Regions from separate parts of the Homo sapiens genome. Here all the other regions are linked to region 6. Evidence: promoter capture Hi-C in human tissues and cell types (Jung and others, 2019). All regions are on one chromosome and are shown on one strand. Each heading gives the region's core, a stretch centred on a gene start or on the middle of the fragment in contact. The rest is flanking DNA. Distances are from core to core; before and after follow the strand shown. Region 1 overlaps ATRNL1 (attractin like 1). Region 2 overlaps ATRNL1 (attractin like 1). Region 3 overlaps ATRNL1 (attractin like 1). Region 4 overlaps ATRNL1 (attractin like 1). Region 5 overlaps ATRNL1 (attractin like 1). Region 6 holds the start of GFRA1 (GDNF family receptor alpha 1). Region 7 has its middle 230 kb from the start of SNORD158.

The links. Contacts are between HindIII fragments. The study calls those that stand out against the background at their distance.
Region 1: a contact is called between a fragment that was not itself captured here and the fragment with the promoter of GFRA1 in region 6, in 4 of the 25 tissues and cell types used here (hippocampus, lymphoblastoid cells, mesendoderm cells and 1 more).
Region 2: a contact is called between a fragment that was not itself captured here and the fragment with the promoter of GFRA1 in region 6, in 4 of the 25 tissues and cell types used here (bladder, dorsolateral prefrontal cortex, heart right ventricle and 1 more).
Region 3: a fragment that was not itself captured here is called in contact with the fragment with the promoter of GFRA1 in region 6 in 2 of the 25 tissues and cell types used here (IMR-90 fibroblasts and aorta).
Region 4: a contact is called between a fragment that was not itself captured here and the fragment with the promoter of GFRA1 in region 6, in 5 of the 25 tissues and cell types used here (IMR-90 fibroblasts, bladder, dorsolateral prefrontal cortex and 2 more).
Region 5: a fragment that was not itself captured here is called in contact with the fragment with the promoter of GFRA1 in region 6 in 3 of the 25 tissues and cell types used here (H1 embryonic stem cells, dorsolateral prefrontal cortex and hippocampus).
Region 7: a fragment that was not itself captured here is called in contact with the fragment with the promoter of GFRA1 in region 6 in 1 of the 25 tissues and cell types used here (thymus).

The regions. Positions count from the first base shown.
Region 1 is chr10:115,904,238-115,907,116 of GRCh38, forward strand. The region is part of intron 28 of ATRNL1 (attractin like 1); the gene reads left to right. It overlaps LOC105378497 (a long non-coding RNA gene), which reads right to left. Exons shown (of 4, transcript XR_001747597.3): 4 at 717-796. Among named protein-coding and RNA genes, the nearest start is that of SNORD158, 290 kb to the right of the region's middle. The HindIII fragment of the contact is 3,357 bases long and covers 1-2,879 here.
Region 2 is chr10:115,809,200-115,812,210 of GRCh38, forward strand. All of the region lies in intron 27 of ATRNL1 (attractin like 1), which reads left to right. Among named protein-coding and RNA genes, the nearest start is that of SNORD158, 380 kb to the right of the region's middle. The HindIII fragment of the contact is 3,822 bases long and covers 1-3,011 here.
Region 3 is chr10:115,772,280-115,775,149 of GRCh38, forward strand. The region is part of intron 27 of ATRNL1 (attractin like 1); the gene reads left to right. Among named protein-coding and RNA genes, the nearest start is that of SNORD158, 420 kb to the right of the region's middle. The HindIII fragment of the contact is 5,015 bases long and covers 1-2,870 here.
Region 4 is chr10:115,831,592-115,834,291 of GRCh38, forward strand. The region is part of intron 27 of ATRNL1 (attractin like 1); the gene reads left to right. Among named protein-coding and RNA genes, the nearest start is that of SNORD158, 360 kb to the right of the region's middle. The HindIII fragment of the contact is 3,651 bases long and covers 1-2,700 here.
Region 5 is chr10:115,873,918-115,876,880 of GRCh38, forward strand. The region is part of intron 28 of ATRNL1 (attractin like 1); the gene reads left to right. Among named protein-coding and RNA genes, the nearest start is that of SNORD158, 320 kb to the right of the region's middle. The HindIII fragment of the contact is 3,414 bases long and covers 1-2,963 here.
Region 6 is chr10:116,271,578-116,274,624 of GRCh38, forward strand. It overlaps GFRA1 (GDNF family receptor alpha 1), which reads right to left and starts at 1,629. Exons shown (of 11, transcript NM_005264.8): 1 at 1,586-1,629; 2 at 413-698. The coding sequence starts at 452. LOC107984273 (a long non-coding RNA gene) reads left to right here and starts at 2,432. Exons shown (of 2, transcript XR_001747598.2): 1 at 2,432-3,047. RefSeq lists an enhancer at 1,794-2,631 and a silencer at 1,840-2,134. The HindIII fragment of the contact is 12,805 bases long and covers 1-3,047 here.
Region 7 is chr10:115,965,477-115,968,448 of GRCh38, forward strand. No RefSeq gene overlaps it. Among named protein-coding and RNA genes, the nearest start is that of SNORD158, 230 kb to the right of the region's middle. The HindIII fragment of the contact is 4,561 bases long and covers 1-2,972 here.

The DNA.
Region 1 (2,879 bases), core at 29-2,528, 370 kb before region 6:
ACCATCCTGGAAGAATTTGGCAGCACCGCACATGGTGCTGGATCCAGAGGGGTGGCATTTGGGGTTTTGAGTCAACTGTGCTCCCCTCCACAGGAAATCTGACTAGCACCTTTTTAGGCCACCACTCTCAGCTGTTTGTTTTCCTCCTGCAGTGTGGCTGTTGCCCTCAGAAGAGATCAGCAACCTGTCAAGACAGTCTTACTCCTACTGGCCATTCTCCCAGGGCCAACTAATGCTGCTTTGGCAGTCACCATGGGATCACTATAGACAGTGTGGATTTCCCCCTCACAAGCTCTGAGATTAATGACACCTGTACATCCATGAAATTAGCTCCAAGACTATACTGTAGCCAAGGCTCAAAATCTATTTCCTATTCCCCATTTCAAATTATATATAGTCATGTTTCTAAAAGACAGCATAACAGGTTGTAGAGATCAAACAACCTGATTAAGATATTTAATCGACTGTCAACATAAAGATGCCCTAAGTTTGAATACAAACTCCCTACCATTTTCAAATTCCTGGAGAGAAATTTAAGTCCAAATATTCAATCACTTTACAAATTAAAGTCCAAAGAACATAAAGTCTGCAATCAGATTCTCTTATCCTAGTGAGCTAAATTTTAAAAATATATATCCACAGTTTATTCTCTCCAATTTTTGATATTGCTCAGTGCCAGGTACTGGGGTTATTGATACATAAGACGAGTTAGGATTGCTTGAACAGCTTCAGCCTGGAGTTTCTATCACTCGGATGGATGTAGTCCCTTCAGTGCTTCATAAATTACAGCTGAAGTCTGAAAGAGTTCAAAATAAATCCTTAAAAATCTCAAGATTATTATTGGCCTGGCACTTACCCAAACGAGAAAGTGAGCTAGTCCCCAGCTACTAAAGTAATTAGTCTAGTGCCCAGGGTTACTAAAACTGTAGCAGAGATTGAGTGCTAAGTGAGTAAAGGAGAGTAGTTGGAGAAAATATTGGTTTTAGTCTTTTTTTCCTTTGAAGACAGGGTCCTACTCTGTCACCCAGGATAGAGTACAGTGGTGCAATCATGGCTCACTGCAACCTCAACCTGCCAGGCTCAAGCGATCCTCGTACCTCAGCCTCCCGAGTAGCTGGGACCATATGCCTATACCACCACACCCAGCTAATTTTTTTTTTTTTTTTAAGTTTTGTAGAGGCAGGGTCTTCCTATGTTGCCCAGGTTGGTCTTGAACTCCTGGGCTCAAGTGATCCACCCACCTCGGCCTCCCAAAGTACTGGGACTACAGGCGTGAGCCACTGTGCCTGGCTGGTTTTAGTCTTCCAACAATTCCAGTCAGGCTATATCTGATGCCCAGAATCTATGACCTGTGAATATAAATTCAACGGAAAGAAATCTTTCCATAAGAGGTTAACTAGACCCTATACATTTGTATTTATGGGAAAAAGTCATCCGTGTAAATGGTCAACTCCAGTAAATGTTCTTGAAAATGGTCTACTCCAGTAAATGTTCTTAACCTGGTTATTCCCCTTTCAAAGCACTCATCTGGAGGCCAAGAATCACATCTGTCATGAGCACCATGGAATCCCTGGCATCCAGCCCCATGCCTAACATAAAGGAGGGACTTGATAAATAATTGTTTTTATGAAAAGAACTTAAGAGAAGTTAATTCCTCCTCATGTCATTCAAGCTTCTATATCAGCTTAGTTGAAGAATAGCCTGGTTTATAGGGTGAACTGTTAAAACTCTTTTAAAATTTACAACTGTGCAATGCAGGGTTTTCTTAATACTATGTAACAATAACAAAAAAATAAATCAAGCTCTGAGACTAGCATAACTGTGACTAACTTCCATAAGCTTTGATTTCCAAATTCTATGTTAATCACTATACCCACATTATTCTCATTGATTGACTTTACAACAAGTAAATATTTACTGTTATGACTGTGTTTTAAAAATTATAATTATAACTTATATTTACCCTAATAAAATAATACATTTAACATGCATGATTTTGTTTTAAAGCTAGGTTTCTGCTAATAAAGTTTGAAAACTACTGGCTTGGCGAAAGTAAAATTGGCTTTGAGGGTGAGAATTTGATCTGGATTCAGATTTCTCTCTGCCTTAACATATTTTAGACTCAGGTAACTATTTTGTAAAATGGGAATGATTATATATACCTCAAAATTTGTTTCAGGATTGAGAAAGTTCAGTAAGAAAATCTTAAAAGGCCCTGGCACAGAGCAGGCTCTGTGTCTTGTTTTCCTCCTCTCTTAACAAATGCCTTTATTCAAAACAATCACAGTAGATTATACAGGCCTACAGACAAAATAGGCATTTAGTAAATCTGCTGATTAATTTCATTTTTCAATATTTGAAGATATTTTCATTAAACAATTTTAACTGTAAGTGGGTTAAACAGTTTTCATTATTAGAATTGACTACTTTCTTCAAAGTTTTCGTATTACTTTATTCATACCTGGGTTCCAGTACATGCCTCCCCCTAGAATTTCAGCACCTAGAGTACAGGATTATATCCTAGACTTCATCTTTACAGTGAAGGCCATATAATTGAACTTCGTAAATTTTGAACAAATACTTTTTTTAAAAAAAAATCAGAAACCTATATATAAAACTACTTATGTACCAGCGCTTTGTAAATATTAATTCACTTAATCTTTATAATCCCCTGAGGTTGGTACAGGTTATCCGAAATGCTTCAATGAGCATTTCCTTTAAATATGATGTTTGAGTGTCAACTCAGTGCTGAAAGAGTTTTAGATTTTGAAGCATTTTGGATTTTGAATTTTCAGATTAGGGATGCTCAACCTGTACTGTTATTATCCCCATTTCCTAGATGAGGAATTTGAGGTCTAGAAAGTCCAAGTGACCTGGCC
Region 2 (3,011 bases), core at 276-2,775, 460 kb before region 6:
TAACACCAATCCCACAATGTCTTGGTTATTGTGACTATATTAGGTCTTAAAGTAGTGTGAAGCCTCCAATTTGTACTTCTTTTCCAAATTTGTTTTGGCTATTCTAGATCCTCTGCATTTCCCGTATAAATTTTAGAATCAACTTTTTCAATTTATCAAAAAAATCAGATTATGAATGAGATTGGGTTGAATCTATGGACCAATATAGGGGGAATTGATATCTGAAGTCTTGTGTCTCTTCTAAGCTACAAGTTAAATAATATTACCTCTTTTATTTAGGTTTTCTTTAACTTCTGTCAGTAATGGATTTTTAGTGAAATATTTTAATAAATTTGTACCTAAATTTTTGATACTACTATAAATGGTAGCTTTTTTCATTTTGATTTCCAATTGTTTGTTACCATTGAATACTGAAATGCAATTAATTTTTGTGGATTTATATTTTTATCTTGTGACATTGCAACACTCAAGTTATTAATTGTAGTAGCTTTTTTGTAGATTCCTTAGGGTTTCCTATGAAACAATATTGTCATCTTCAAATAAACACAATTTTAGTTCTTCCTTTTTCATCTGTATGCCTATTATTTCTTTTACTTGCCTTGTTGCACTGGCTAGGTTGTCTAGTACACTGTGGAATTGAAACGATTCAAACAAATACCCCTACATTATTTCATATATTAGGGGGAAACATTCAGTCTTTTACCATTAAGTATGATGTTAACTTCAGGTTTTGTAAGATGGTCTTTATCAGAGTTTAGGAAATTTTCTATTCTTAGTTTGCTGAGAAATTTTTTTTAGGAATGGATATTGACTTTTAACAATATTTTTCTTATTTTTTGAGAAAATCTTGTGGATTTTACTTAGTATAGTTTGTTATTATGGTAAATTAAATTGATTTGTTTTTCCAATGTCAAATTGACATTGCCTTTTTAGGATTAAGCTCACTTGTCATGACATATGTTTTTTGTGCATGGCTAGATTCAATTTGCCAATTTGTAAAAGGATTTTTACTGAGATGTTGATAAAGTATACTAGTCAGTAATTTTTATTACTTGCCATGTCTTTTGCAACTTTAATATCAGAATAATGCTGGTTTCATGAAATGACTGGGGACATGTTTCCTCCTCATCTGTTTTCTGGAGAGTTTGCATAGAATTGATATTATGTCGTCCTCAAATGTATTTGATAGAAATTGCCCACTGAAGCTGCCTAGTCCTTGGGGTTTTCTGTGGAATAGTTTTAATGACAAATTCTTTTATTTTTCCATAAAAGAACTTGATGGTTTTTATTTGACCTACTAACCTTCGGCCAGGGTAATTTTGACAGTGTCTGTAAGATAATAAAGTGGCAATTATAGTAGTAAGTTTGATTTAAAACACCTTTAACATAAAAAAGAATACTTGTTAATTCTTGGAAGTAAAACCACAAGTGTTTATACATGTGAATATATATAATATTCTTTAATAAATTCTATATCTTTAGTAGATATATGGCTGTTCAAGTTATATAGTTCTTGAGTGAGTTTTGGTATTTTTAGATTTTCCAGGAATTTATTATTTTATCTAAGTTGTCAAATTTATTGGCAGTCTCTTATCTTCTAAATATTCCCTTATTATTTTTTAAAATGTCTGTAGGAACTATAGTGATGTCTTCTCTTTCATTCTTGATATATGTTGTTTCTTTTTCTTGGTCTGTCTGGCTAGAGATTTATCATATTTATTGATATTGTCTGAGAAATAGCTTTTGGGCTTTATGGATTTTTTCCTTTGTTTTTCTATTTTGCATGTTATTGATATTTGTATCTTTATTATTTCCTTCTCTCTCTTTAGGTTTAATTTACTATTCGTTAGTGTCCTAGGAGGGAAGCTTGGAACATTGATTAGAGACATTTTTTCTTTCTTAGTATAAGCATTTAATGCTATAAATTTCCCTTCAAGCATCCTTTAGCTGCATTGCACAAATTTTGACTTGTTATATTTTCATTTTTATTCAATTCACAACTTTTTTCAATTTTCCTTGTGACTATTTCTTTGATCTTTGGCTTATTTAGAAGTGTGTTGTTTCTAAATGTGTCACAATTTTCCAGATTTTTAAATTTATTTTTAGTTTATTTCTATTTTGGTCAGAGAATATTACTCTATGGTTTTTATCTTTTTTAATTTGTTAAGGTTTGTTTTATGGCTGAGAGTATGGTCTGTATGGTGAAGGATTCATTTAGATTTGAATTGAAGGTGTATTCTGCTCTTGTATGGAGTTCTTGAATTGTCAGTTAGATTAGTTTCATTGATAATGCCATTATGTGTTCCACATACTTAGTTCTATATTCTTACTGATTCTTCCTCAGAGAGGAGTGTTAAAAATCTCCAACTATAATTGTAGTCTTATTTATTTCTTCTGTATATTCTATCAGTTTTTGCTTCATGTATTTTGAAGCTCTGTTATCTTTAAGCACATACACATTCAGCTGTCTACTATTAGCTAGAAGCTGATAGGTCTTCTTGATTAATTGACTTCTTTATTATTATATAATGTTATACATTTTCCTGGTACTATTCCTTGATCTGAAGTCGTCTCTTTGTGCCTTTAATATAGCCACTCCAGCTTTCTTTCTTTAATTAAACATTTTTAGATTTCTTTTTTATTATACAGGTAAGAAACATTTAATTATAAAAATATGTGAAAATTTGAAAATACTGATAGTCAAAAATAGGAAGGTAAAATCAGCTGTAAGCTCACTACCCAAAAGTAATCACTGTTAACAACTTTGTGTATATACCTATTTTTAAAAGTTTTATTTTTATGGTAAAATACACATGACATAAAATTTACTATCTTCATTCTTTTTTAGTATACAGTTCAGTGGTATTAAATACATTCATAATGTTGCACATCCATCACTCCAGCTTTCTTTTGTGTTTGCATGAAATTTCTCTACCTTTTTATTTTTAATCTGTGTTATATATTTATATTTAAAAATAGGTTTCGTATGGGCAACTATAGTTGGCTTTTAC
Region 3 (2,870 bases), core at 286-2,785, 500 kb before region 6:
TCAGAGAAAATATCATGTTGCTTAATATTTAGGCAACTAATTACAAAATTCTCGATTACCAAGTCTCACTGAAGTGTTCCCTTACGAAAACGTGAACTTTATTAGGTATCAACTCATTGACATGGTCCATTTGAAGAAGCAATTTATTAGTCTAATGGTTAACACCTGTTAGATGAAGCTCAAAAATGAAAAAGATTTTAATGAAAAGCAAATGCAGTAAATGCTAGCTTTTAACTGGTTTCATAAAAGATTGAATATATATTCAATATTCTGTATATATATATATACTGTATAAATATACAAAATATATACTCTGTCTGTGTGTGTGTGTGTGTGTGTGTGTGTGTGTGTGTATTACACAAACTCTCCTTTTCCCTGGACAATTTAAGTACATTTTCCCTGTAAGCTAAAAGCCATAAGTATCCCTACAGATATTTTTTGCAAGTGAAATTGCTTTTCATTTGGCAAAAACTAAACCTGTGATTCATAGCAGCTTAGAGCACTCAAGGCCAAAGAGTACATCTTGCTTGCTTTGACTGACATTTTTGCAGGCTAAATCAGACCTGCATGATTCAGCTGTACTGAGATTCATAATGCTGTGAGCAGAGAAATTTGGGGGTGGTATAAAAGAGCATGGAGGGAAATTGTCTTGGAAATTGTGACTACTGACTGAGGCAAAAATCAACCACAGCCAATAGGCGGTTTCAATTGATATTTGATTGGGGAGGCGTTTTCTTGCTACCCTCTTTATACAAAGAACATTAGAGAAATTTTAGTGAAGAAAACTACTACGGAAGCAGAAAAAGAGGGACTTTACTATGAGAAATGAAACTGCAATAGGGAGCAAGAGCAGGGAGAATGACTCTTTTTAACAGTTGTCAGCTCAAATATTAAAGGGAAGTGCACATTGTATATAAAAGGAAAAGTGGCAAAAAATCCATTCCCAAAAAATTTCTCCTAAATGTCTACCATTAGCAATTCATTCCTTTCAGATTTCTTCATTGAGTTCATTCCTCAGTTGCCCTTAAAATTCATATGCCCAGAGGAGTAAAAATCTTCCTACATGAAGTTATTTCCTATCTGGACTACAAAGGGAGCACAAGAAAATTGCTTTGGGAAGTTCAGGCCTCAGGAAAATACGGTGTTTAAAAAAGATTACTATATAGCTTATGCTAACCAACACCTCATTTTTGCTTAATATTTATTTTATTCTGTCTCACTAGTAATATATAAGATATAGCCCAGTCATAATGGATCTTATTCAGGTATGGCTACGTAATCTATGGTACAAAATGTAAGTATGAGCCACTTATTAAACAAATTATTAAGAATTTCAGCAGAGCATTCAGCCAAGCTTAGAGCCCTTCTAAGACTGGGGACCCCTGCACCTGCACAGATCACATGCTCATGAAATCAGCCCTCATTTTATTTGATGGTAGTGAACTGTGTGAATTCCAAACTTAGTTAATGAAAGTGTTTCGTTACAGATTACCTAAATATTTTGGCTTGTAAATGCTCAACACAAATATTAATACCAAAAATTCAAACCCAAATTCTTTTTGGGTTAATTGGAGGCTTTGCAAATCACTAAATTTAACTATTTGTTCCTATCTCCCTCCCTTTTTGTGTGATCTTCTATGGGAAAGTATAGGATTTATGAGGTTACACATTATCATTTCAGATTTGGACCTCTCCCTTAAACCTGAGGTTCAAGAGCCTAATCTTCACTCTCTATTCCTAACTTATGAATCATCTAGCTGAAAATAGCCAAAGACTGCTCTCTAATAGCCACCCCAAACCAGCACTCATCCTAGAATAACCAATAATTTCCCCAGCCCCAGGTGTGGAGTTAGGATGAGTGTGGATAATACCTGGTTGTGCCAAACACTAAAAGTAGATTCACTTTGGGAGGCCGAGGCGGGCAGATCACCTGAGGTCAGGAGTTTGAGACCAGCCTGGCCAATGTGGCGAAACCCCGTCTCTACTAAAAGTACAAAAATTAGCCAGGCATGATGGCAGGCACCTGTAATCCCAGCTACTCAAGAGGCTGAGGCAGAAGAAGCTTAACCCAGGCCACGGAAGTTGCGGTGAGCCGAGATCACACCACTGCACTCCAGCCTGGGCGACAAGAGCAAGACTCCATCTCAAAAAAAAAAAAAAAAAAAAAAAAAAAAATTAGATTAGTGAAAGCTAGGGGTGGCTTTGGGCAAGGTGCTCTGAGGGCCCAGATAATAGGGAAATTAAGCCTATAAGAGTCTTGATCACCTAAGCTATAAAAAACACTTCTGGGTAGAAGAAGTTTTTACATTCCAATTCAAACTTGAGTATGCTGCTGTTTAAGCCAATATTTATTTCCTCTTAGCATATGTTTCAACTTTAGTACCGTCCAACAATAAGATACGTATTCTCTATTAAAATCTCCCTCTTCATCTTTTGTTGACACAGCACTATAATTAGTATCACATAATTCCTACCACTGACAGAATGCCCCAGAATATTTTGTCTTATTTTTTTTTCAAGATTAGCTAGCACTTATAACACTTCTTGCTAACGTTTCACTCAGTTATAGTTGGAGTTAGTGAAGTCATGGTTTGTTTTTTTTTTTATGTAAAGCTGTCTTTTCTTCTTCTCACCCCCATCCCACAGGCATCAAAGGAAGTTAAATAAAAGAATGACTATTGTGACGTTGACTAATAGTCATAAGACATTAGCTAAGAAATGAATACCATTGAGGTTTTGAATGATCAGCTGTTAATTTTTAAGATTATACTTTAGAAAATAATAAATCCTGCTTTTGATGAGATGTCCATTAAAAAACTTATTTTAAAAGTAATATATTTTGAGTAACTACATTCTGTCCAATGCAACTC
Region 4 (2,700 bases), core at 128-2,627, 440 kb before region 6:
GAGCCCAGGAGTCAGTGTTTAGATGTTCACTTCTTGCACCGGCTAACATGACATAGCTACTTTGTGTCCTCAAGCAAGTCTCTTAACTCTCAGAACCTTAGTTTTGTCATTTGTAAAGTTTGGGTAGTAAAGGCTGCTCTCACCACCTCACATAGTAGCTGCAAGAGTCAAGTGAGTTTTTTTTTTTCAAGTGAGATTTTTAAAAAGCTTTGTCAATTGTTAGGTGCTTTAAAAAAGTCAACAGAGAGTGTTATAACTGAAAGAGATACTTTAAAATTGCTATAGCTACCTGCTATTAACTAAAGGCATTAAGAAACTTGAAAACCAACACCAAGAAAAAGAGTATAATTAAATTCCCCGACAAATAGTAATTTCATCTTATTCAAATAGTCTTCTTCTGAAGTGATCTCAGAAAATATGGAGCTATTTACAGGATTAATATGTCCTAACTTCCCTTTTATGAGGTAAATAAAGGGGGAAAAAGCTAAGGTCATAGAAAATTTGAGGGTTATTGGTTGCCAGAATTGGCAAAATTAATTTATATTTCTGCTTTGAAACCTGTTTAGTTTCTGTAGAAAGGGGAACTTTTCAAATTAAAACTGTAGTCTGGGTCAGAAAGCTATCAAATAGCCAAGGTAAAATAGGGAGGAATCCAGGATTTTCCCACCATTCACTCGTGCTGTTGACTCCTGCCTTGTGGGCCTCATCTTGGTCAGGAGCTGCCACTCACCTTTTCTCACCTGCAGAGGCTCCACCAACCTAAGTGGGAAGATTGGCTTCTGTTACCAAGAAGCAGAGCATAATGCTAAGGGAAGGATAGAAAACCCTTTCTGTTGTGTTTCTTCTATACTTGCTCATCATTTGACATTGTTTTTGCACTCCCTTCATTCCTTCAAATCTCATAGACTTTCTGGATTCTGAGTCTCAGACCTTGAACTACAACGTATGCGTCTGTCTGTCTCCTGTGGTATGTCATTACTTCCAGATGCTAGTATGGAAAGTGGGGAAGAATTAGGCATTGGAATTATGATAAGTCTGAGTCCAAGTCTCGACTCTTCCACTCTCCTTGCACAGGCAAAGGAAACATTAGGTATTCAAAAATGGCCACTATTATTATGTATGTCACTTCTAAACCCACAACTGATTTATCCATTCTCTAACCCTTTACTTTTGCTGTCCTTGCTTGCTTGCTTCAAAGCCACCCCTTCTTGATCCTGCATCTCTGTCTCAACCTTTTATCTGATACTCACACCTGAATCCCCTGCCCCAGCTCTGACAAGATCATGAATTAGAGTTTCATTGTAGAAAGATCTATGGTGAAGAGATGCAATGAAGTATCAAGGTAATTCCCTTCTAAATGGAAAATGACCATCACAAGTATTTTTATGTCCCAGTATTTCATTTTAGTGAGATTTTTAAAAATTCCTTCAGGACATGTAAGAGGAGAAAAAAAAAGAAATTCAAATAGCAAACTAAGAATGTATGGTGTTCATTTGTAATAAGCAGGAAAGTTAAATATATTTTTAAGGAGATAAAGGAGCTAAATCATAACATAGCTGCCATTCATTGAATGCCTACTGTATGCAATACAATATACCAGGTGCTTTAAATAAGTTATTGAGTTTACTCGTTGCAAAAACCCTATCAGTAATTAGCACTATTATTATTCTCTTTTATAGGTGAAGAAATTTGGGCCTAGAAAGATTAGTCTAGTTACCTAAAGTCACGTGATCTGTATGTGGTAGAGCCAAGATTCAAACTTGATTTTACTTTTCACGGCATAGCGTGCTCAATGTAGAACCAGCCTGCAAGAGTTTCCTCAAAGGCTGTGTCACACCAGGGCCACATATAAGCTCCTGGGCTATTCTATCATAAATCAGAAGATACAGGCTAAGTTATAAGAATAAGTTATTATTATAGTAAGAGTGTATGCTATGTTAAACAGACCATTAAAATGATAAAATTAAATAATAATCACTGACATTTATTGAACACTTGCCCTACGCCAGGCAGTACTCTAAATGCTTTGTAAGTATCAATTTAGTTTATCCTTACAACAATCCAGTGAAGTACATATTATAATTATTGCCATTTTACAGATGAGGAAATTGAGCACAGAGAGTTAAGAAACATGCCCAAGTAAGCGGCAGTTAAGAATTAATTCTAGGCAATAATGTACCAGAGCCCACATGTTTACCCTCTATCCAATACAAACTGCCTAGTTAATTTAATCCTGTGTTCTAATTCTTTTGAATTCTAATATAAAGCACATTATCTTGTAAAGCTTTAGTTTAAAGGTCTGCCACATAAGCAACAGGGCCTGCTCTTCACCATATGTGTTCATAATCTGGATAATTCCCTGATGGGGATCATTTGGAGCAAACATTTCTTATGGAATGATTTTCTATGACTGTGCTATGCTCAACTGCCGGAGCACTTCACTGCTATACCTCAATGGAATGCCAGCGACCGACTGTCTTTCTATCTACAGTTAATTTGGTGGCTACCGCTATGCTCTCAGGAGCCAGTTGTCTATCATATCCCTGCATACCCCACACCTTTAGTCCACTCCAAGAACTTGCTCCCCACAGTAGGCCTGTGAGTCTGAGGTTATATACTCTTATTCTACTGGCATCCCATTAGAAACTACTTTCTGCGGCTCCAATATTCCTTCTTTATTTTGTCACTTGGGATTTCAAT
Region 5 (2,963 bases), core at 138-2,637, 400 kb before region 6:
TTGATCCAGATGCAAATAACTGCTGGAATGGCTAATGACAAGGTTCTGGAAATGTACTAGGAATTACTCAAGACAGAAGGTCTGAGAGGATCAAAATTGGTATCCAGAAATGGCACCACCACTCTCCCCTCTTTCACTGTTTCCATCTTCATGTCTCCTCCACAGCTCTTCATGCTTGTCAACTTGGGGAAAGTCATGGTTGATGCCCTTCTGACAGCCTGCTGGAGAAGATCTGTTGCCTTTTCTGGCAGTCAGTGACGTCTTCTGCCACAACTGGGCTTTACTCTATGGCTTTCTTAGAAAGCAGCATCCATAGCTGGAGGAGCCTTGAGCTCACTGGACTGAGTCCTTTCAGCTTGAAGCTGACCTCCCTGATTGCCCTGCCTCTCCATTGCAGTTTCCGTTCTCACACTGACCAATACTAATTGAAGGAGATAGCATCACCTACTGGTAATCAGGTCCCTGCCTTGTCTTAGGTTGCCATCCAATAACAACTTGAGAATTTATAAAATATTGTTTTTCTTTACAGGTGTTTCTTGAGTTTGTTTCTCAAGTACTAAGCACTATCAGAGAAAGAAATCAATGTTAATTATACACAAACTGTAGGAATACAAAAGAACATTTAGATAATCACTTCTCTGAAGGAAACTACAATCTCTTCAGGCAGATAATAGATAATATGGGTATCTTCCATTTCTACAAAAGATAAAAATGTAGGTGAGAGAGAAAGAGCACTTACTAAAAGTTAAATGGAGTCAGCAGAACCTGAGATTTCCAAGTGATAGAAACCTGGACAGGCAGCAGAGGTGGAGAAGCACAGTCTAAGTGGAGAGTCACATGAGCAAAGGAGACTCAGAAATCAGAGTTCTTTGGAAGTGGGAGGTTGCTAAGAAAGATCGAAAATGCCAGGAAGGCCCTTACTTCCAAGATGAGCTTGAATTTGATCTGGTAGGAATTGGGAAACCATTTTGGATTTCTGAGCAGGGATCCAAGCTTTAAATGCACAGTTTTGAGGACATTTACTTTTCTGGAGTATACAAACTCAGCTGTTAAAGAGTGGGATCAGAAGCTAAAGATCAGCTAGGAAAAATTACAGTAATCCAGGCAGGTGAGGGTCTAGATTGCAGCAGAAAAAGAGAGTCTCTGATGAATTCAAAAGTTATTGGAAAGTGGAAATTGATAGGACTTGGTGACAAATTGAATTAAATTGACTAATCATTTATTATTTTGTGCATCTCAGCATTCTACATCTCTACCAGTGAACTCATTAAAGAGATTTTTATGTTAATAGCGAAGTTTTTAATGTAAGTTGATTTGAGAGATCTTTTCTGGTTGAATACAGTTGGCAGGCTGTTGGATTTAGTAGGCAAGGCCACATTTATCTGGCATCATTAAAATTAGGTAACCTAAATAAATAAAATATTTAGACAATTGAAGCTTGCTGTCATTGCCCAATTTGGGGAGGCAGTCCAGAGGGACTGGCCAGATCAGATACCATTCTGTGGATAAGTTATCCTGAGGGACAAGTGGAGAAACAAATTCAGGGGCACTTTTTCTAAGAACGGGAAGGGGACTCCCAAAGAAATTCCCCAAACTAAGACATCAGTCTCTGAGACAAAATAGAACATGAAATGAGGATAGAGATTCAAGGATCTAAGTAGTCCATTCATTAATGAAATAATATTACTTATGTGCATTGAGTACCTACTTCCGTGCTGAAAGCTTTGCATAGGTCATTTGTTTTACTTGTATGTATTGAGCACTTACTAGGTGTTGGCTGAGCAAAGAACCTAACAGGTATGTTCCCAGCCCTTATAGAGCTTATAGTCTGGTGTGGGAGATAGTCATCAAACAAATAATTATACAAATACATACTTAGTTACAAATTGTGATCATTGCAGTAAAGGGAAATATAGAGTGGCATGGAGGTAAAACAAGGGTTCTCCACTTAGATTTCACAGTCAAAAATGGTGTTCCTGAGTAAATAATATTCTAGCAGAAACTTTGAAGGATGACTGGGAATTAGCCAGGCAAAGACTAAAAGGATGAGTGTCAAGGACACTGAAAGGCAAAGTAGGAGATCAAATACTGGGAATCTTGAAGTCGGAAGTAGGTATTTGGTTTAAGCTTTGGAGCAAGGTGAAACTGGAACCTGGAATGGCTGTAATTACAAATTGTCCTCAGATTACCCAGCTCAGAATCTACAGACACACGCTAAATGAAAAAGGCAGCATATTTAATGGTCAGAACATCACAACATACAATTTGCAGTCAGATGAATGTGGACCACTTCTTGGGTGTTTTATCCTGGGAAGACACTTACCCTTTCTCAGCTTTAATTTTTCATTCTGTACAATGGGGCTAATACTACTTATCTCTTGGGGATTGTGAAAGGCTCAAATGAGATAATGTCTGTAATATACTTAATTCAGTACCTGACAGACAATATATGCTCTTCCTTCATGTCACCAAGTCTTTTGTTATTCTATTTAATTCATATTTATTTTGATAACAACATGAAGATACCCACATACCTAGCAAAATGTAGGAACTTTATAACAGGCATTTTCTTTGCTGCTCAGAAGCTTATCTGAGTCTTTTCCACCTATTCCCTGATCTGTAATTGTGTTTCATATTTTTGAGGCTCTCTGAAGTGAAATCTCCAGATTGGGAAAGGGTTAAGGGATTCATATGTAAATAGACATAGAATTCAGTGTGTGCTCAATTAAGATTTGATGAATGAATGATTACTGTATAATTATAGAGATCTGACAGTGATAACCATAGTTAATTCATTGCTAAGGTCGTGTACATTGAAAAATAATTTTAAAGCATTTTTTAGTAATTTGTGTTTTTAAGTTGTTAGTAAACTAAATTGCAACCTTTTGTTCTCTGAATATTCTCTTAACTATAAATCTACCATGTTTTAATCAGAGAAATGTTGTGACAGTTCCAGGAAAGGA
Region 6 (3,047 bases), core at 379-2,878:
CGCCGGGCGGAGAGTGCCCAGAAGCTACTCGGGAAAAACTTTTCTCTTCCAAGTTTGCTCTCCCGGCCCCAATGCTCCCCAACTCCACCTGCCCGCCGCGGCTCCGCGAGCTCCCAGAGACTCTCTGGGGGTGCAGGGCCCTGGGCTGGAGGGCTTCTTAGTCCCCCGCCAAGTTGGGTCATTAAAAACCACAGGAAATCAAAACCAAGCCCGAAAAGCTTCAGGCAGCGCCGCGCCGCCACCGCCTCCCTAACCCGGGGATTCGCGATCCCATTCCCCAAAAAGACACTTCTTCCTTCCACATCCACCACACCCGCGCCCCAATTTTGGTGCGGAGGGCGGGGTGGGCTGCTGCAAGCGACCCTAGGAAAGACTCAGAGGGTAAGAAAGCCCGCGGCGGGCCTCGACTTACCCAAGAGCGGCAGCGCGAAGTACAGGGTCGCCAGGAACATGGTGCCGGCGCGGGGCTGGTCCCCGCCCCCCCAAAAAAATCCCGAGCCGCCGCTGGGTCTTGCCGAGGGAGCTCAGCGTGCAGCGATCCCCGGACAGCTGTGCTGCTCTGGCCGCCCAAAGTTCAGCTCCATCCAGTGAAAGAGGAAACTCCGGGTCTGGCAGCAGCCACCGCCGCCGGCGACTCAGCTCCGGGATGGCGAGGGCGGGAGGCGGTTCCGCTTTTAGGGGTTCAGGTCCGACCCAACCTGGAAGGGAGGGCGCGCTTTGAGATGAGAGCGGAGAGCGCCGGAGACTCCCCCCACAGAACCCTCTCCCCTCCCCCGTTCCCGCCTTTGGGGAATTTCCAACACCGGGGTGAGGACCCACCCCCACCCAGGTCGGGGTGCATGTGCGTGTTTTCCAGGGGCCGCTGACACGGGGATGGAGGTGAGGGCTGGAGAGGTCTGAAGAGGGTTCCTAAAGTCCAAGGGGGTGTCTGTTGGGTTCAACCCGAGACGCTGAACGCAAGCAAATAAATAAATAAACGGTACTTTCCGAGCGTCGCGAGCGGAGCCTGCAGCTGCCTGGAGTCCGAGCCCTCGGTGGCGGCGGCGGCAGCTCCCTAGCCAGCCCTGGCGCCGAAAGAGCCCCTTCTCCCGGGAAGTTGGCCTCCCCCTCCTCGCGTCAGCCAGCGAGCTCGCTCAGCCGCCGGCCCTCCCCACTCCGATCGCCAATCCCTAGCCCCAGTCGCCGCCCTCCTTCTCCCCGGGACTCGTCTCCCTCCAGAGGCCGCCAAGCCAGGGGGAACCGATGTCCCGACTGGGGCTGAAACCCGGTTCCTGCGCCCCTACCCCCTACCCGCCGCGCGTCCTCGGCTCCCTCCTGGGCGTCCGCTCCTCTCACACTCTCGCCCGGTGCCCAGGACTCGGGCGCTTCCGCACCCCAGCCCAGGGCGAGCGCGCCGGCCCGCAGTCCCGGCGTGCCCCGGCAGGTGCAGCCCGGCGCCACGAGCGCCCCCCGGGCCCTAAAGTTGGGAGACGCCAGCAAAAAGAAAGGGGTGGCCGGAGGAGGGGGGAAGAAGGAGTGGGGAAGAGGGACGGGAAGCGGCAATGGGTTCCCAAACAGAACGAAAAAAACTCCAAATGCCACCAACCTGGACTCAACCGACCGCGTCCAGCTGCGGCGAGGAGCCAGTTTGTTTATTTACTTATTTATTCTTTCAGGGCAATGGTGTCCCCGCCCCCTCCTTCCCTTTCCGGGCTCACTTTATCTGCGCTAGGAAAAGAAAAAAAAGAAAAAAAAATAGATGCGGTAATCTTCGAGAGCTCGAAGGGCCGAGTTGGGCCAGGACGATTTCCGAGCAGAGCCCTCGGCTCGGATGCTCGTTAGGGATGTTAGTGGTTATTGGAAGCGGCGCGGAGAATGGCGTGTTCCGAGGCCAGATTTCTTCTGGCCAGAGGACCCTCGGCCTGCTCCTGTTCCCGCCGCTCCGCAGCTCCAGCTCCCTCCTAAGCTCGCCCGCCAGGCAGCCGCAGCTGCACACGCCCGCTTGCGGTGGGACCCGCGGCCGGACCCGTACTCGCGCACAGGACACGCAGTGTTCTGCAGCCGGCCGCGGGTGCTGCCAGACACACACACTCTCTCTCTCTCTCTCTCTCTCTGTCTCTCTCTCTCTCTCTCTCTCTCACACACACACACAGACACACACACACACATACACGGGCACAAGGGCTCTTTCTTCTTAGGGCAATCGAGCCAGACCCTTCTTCGGAACACAAAGTTTTCCCCCACGTCACTAGTGGCTGTGATTCAAGACTTGGTGCTTTCAAGACACACTCAGACCCAGGACGCTGGAGCGGCGATCCTGGGATGCGCCCATCCGTTCGTCCACGCCAGCGCGTGCACACTCACACTCACACGCACACATGCACACGCAGTCTCTACCTCTCTCCTGGAGCTCCGACAAGGAGACAAAAGCGGAGCCCCCAGCCCACTGCATTTAAACCCGGCCAGACCTGGCTTTAGAAAATTTATAAGCTGACCTCCATTTTGGCTGTTTCGAGAGTAAATTAACAACAACAAAAAAAGCCTAACATGTACACAGCCCTTCGCCCCAACCCCTGGGACCGCTGGTTCCCAGTCGTGCTGCTCACCCCCCGCCCCCCACGCCTGACACACGCTCCCCTTCCCGCACGCCGGGGGGCGCCCGGGGCACCGAAGTCTACACTGGGTCGGGAGACCGGTCTAGGAGCCAGCCGGCAGTGCTCGGGATCTTTGCTGATGTCCAAGTTCATCTCTCGGGGAGACCGAGTTTGAATCAAATCTGCGTGCGCCCAGCTGTCAAATCTGCAAACCTATCACGCCAGACAATGGGCCGCCGCGGAGGACAGACAAGAATGGCTCATTTTGATCGAGGGGGGTAAATTGAAAAGGGCACGGGCTTTGGTTGAAGTTTGAGGCCCGGGTGTCAGGGCGGGGAGAAGAAGAGGAGGAAGGAGGAGGGTTGGGCCGCTCTCCATTCAACCACACATCAGCCAGGCGCGCCCCTCGGCTGCAGCGGCTGCTTGCAGGCGGGCTGCATATTGTGTGGAGTCGCCAAAGAGGGTCTGCGCCTC
Region 7 (2,972 bases), core at 132-2,631, 310 kb before region 6:
TGGTTTAAACACTCACGTCCTGATGAGCTCTGGCTGAAGTCTCATCCCTCACTGGAGAAAGCAGAGTGCAGGCTGGAGCCCAGCAGGCTAGTGCAGACCCCTGTTCTACCACTTCCTGGCGCCGATAAATTGGGGAAGTCACTTAACCTCAGAAAGGCTCTTTGTAAAATTAGGATATAAAATTAGGAGATAGTAGTTTCTTGTGATGGTTTCGGTGATGATGTTCTGAGATAATGCCAGTAATGCTTAAGCCTTAAAAATGATTCTTATCCTTCAGCATCTTTCATCCTGGTGCCACTTAACCAGGGATCCTGCAACCAGCACAGCCTAGCGCATAGTAGGTGCACCGGTATTGTTTAGCGTGAATGAAAGAGTGAGCTGGCGCACCCAAATAAGAATGCAGGGAGACTGAAGGCAGGGAATATTCAGGGAAATAATCCTTTCCCCCTTTCTTTAGTCCTGATCTGACTTTAAACTTGGCTTGAGGAATTCCTACAACTGAGTTTTATTGACCTGGATGTTGCCTGCATTTCTAGTTTGCTTCACACCATATGGGATTCAAAGCGAGTTTTGTAAATTCATTAATTCCTTCACCCTTGCGTTCTTGGAATACTAAGTTTCTGCTACCTGCCAAGTCCTTTTCTAGGCACTAAGGACATAAGCAGTGAACAAAATAGACAAAAATTCATTTATTCATGGAGTTTACATTCTAATGGAAAGAGATAATATAAGTAACTAAATAATATAGTGTAATGAAAGGTAAGTGCCATGAGGAGGAAAAGCAGAGGAGGGTGGGGATGGCTGGTGGTCAGGAAGGGACTCACAGAGACAGTGACTTGTATGGTTTGGCTCTGTGTCCCCACCCAAATCTCATCTCGAATTATAATCCCCACGTGTTGAGGGAGGGAGGGGATTGGATCATGGGGGTGGTTTCCCCCATGCTGTTCTCATGATAGTGAGTGAGTCCTCACCAAATCTGATGGTTTTATAAAGCAGTTTTCCCTGCTCTTGCTGGCTGTCTCTCACCTGCCACCAAGTATAATAAGGCGTGCCTACTTCCCCTTTTGCCATGATTGTAAGTTTCCTGAGGCCTCCCCAGCCATGTGGAACTGTGAGTCAATTAAACCTCTTTTCTTTATAAATTACCCAGTCTCAGGTATGTCTTTATAGTGTGTGAAAATGAACTAATATAGTGACATTTAAACAAAAACGGAAAGAGGTGAGGAAACAAAGCTTGCCTTCATCTGGAAGAACGTTCAGAAGGAGAGCCAGAAGACAAGGCAACCGGTACAAAGGCCCTGGGGTTACTGTATGCCTGGCTTGCTGGAGTCTACTGTGCCCAAAGCCCAGTAAATAAGGGGAGGGCATGACGGCCAAGCAGAGCTTTGTGGGCCTTGGGGCCACTTTGCACTTAACTTTTGACTGTGAGTGAGGTGGGACCATTGAAAGGTTTGGAAGATAGCAGTTGTATCATCTGACTTGCTCGCCACTGTACCTGTGATATTTGGGATAAAGATATCAATAAGTTGGTCTTACTATACCCTCAATCAAATAGTATAAAACAGCCTCAAAAACTTACATTAAAAACATTATCTAGAATAAAAGTACCAAATACCTTTGCTGAAAAAAATGGTGTGGAGATGGTAATGTCAGTACCAATTTTCTTTTATAACTTTTAATGGCTGTAATTTAACAGTAATTCTTTCATATCACCAATACAAAGTACTCGAAATTTGCACTAAATATTCTATGCCCATAGCATAGAAAACAGTTCTCATGATCTTCATTACTGTCCATTTTTAAATCTCATTTTATGCAACTATCTGAAATGTTTTACACTTTACTAAAGTATAGCATAGAGAGAGAAAAGCATGCCAATAGTTAGGGTACAGCTAGATGAAATTTCTCTTTAGCCAGGACCAGAGCAAGAATCACAGCATTTCGGCCTCCCCAGAGCAACCCTGTGACTTCTTCCTCCTTGTCTGCCTCCCACCCAAGGGTAACTGCTTTCTTGACCTCTATCTCCATAGTCTAAACTGGCTTACTTGTAAACTTCATGTAAATGGATGATGACATATTTTCTCTTTCCTGTCTGACTTCTTTTGCTCAACATTATGTTTGTGAGATTCACCTATGTTGTGGCGAGTAGTGGTTTGTTCTCTCTGCTGTGTCATCGTGCGGAAGGACTATAGTGTGTGTATTAGTCCGTTCCCACACTGCTAATAAAGACATACTTGAGACTGGGTGATTTATAAAGGAAAGAGATTTAATTGACTCACAGTTTAGCATGGCTGGGGAGGTCTCAGGAAACTTACAATCAGAGCAGAAGGGGAAGCAAACATGTCCTTCACATGGCAGCAGCAAGGAGAAGTGCAGAGCAAAGGAGGGGAAAAGCCCCTTATAAAACCGTCAGATCTGGTGAGCATTCACTCACTGGCACGAGAACAGCATGGCGGAAACCGTCCCCATGATTCAGTTACCTCCCACTAGGTCCCTCCCATGACATGTGGGGATTATGGGAACTACAATTCAAGATGAGATGTGGGTGGGGACAGCAAAACCATTATCAGTGTGTATCCATTCTGTTGTTAATGGGCTCTGTTGAACGCTCTCGAATAGTGCTGCCATAAGCATCCTTACACAGGTCTTCGGGGGACCGTGCACACATTTCCAAGTGGTATCAAGAGGTGTGCTGTTTAGCTTGAGTTCCGTTACATGTTTTAAGAGAACCACTCTGGCTTGCTAAGTATGGATTAAAAAGTGCCAAGGGACAGGAATAGATAAAGGACATGAATGACAAGTCTTGGGGACAATCTGGGGGAGGTGAGGGTTGATTGGATCAGAATGGAAGCAGTCTGGATGGTAAAGGGCGGTTAGGTCTGGATGGATTTTGAAAAGTCCCCTGTGGTCATGCTGGGGGGAAGTCACCCAGCATTTGACCTGTGACATCAGGAGTGGTGCCTCCAGTGGTG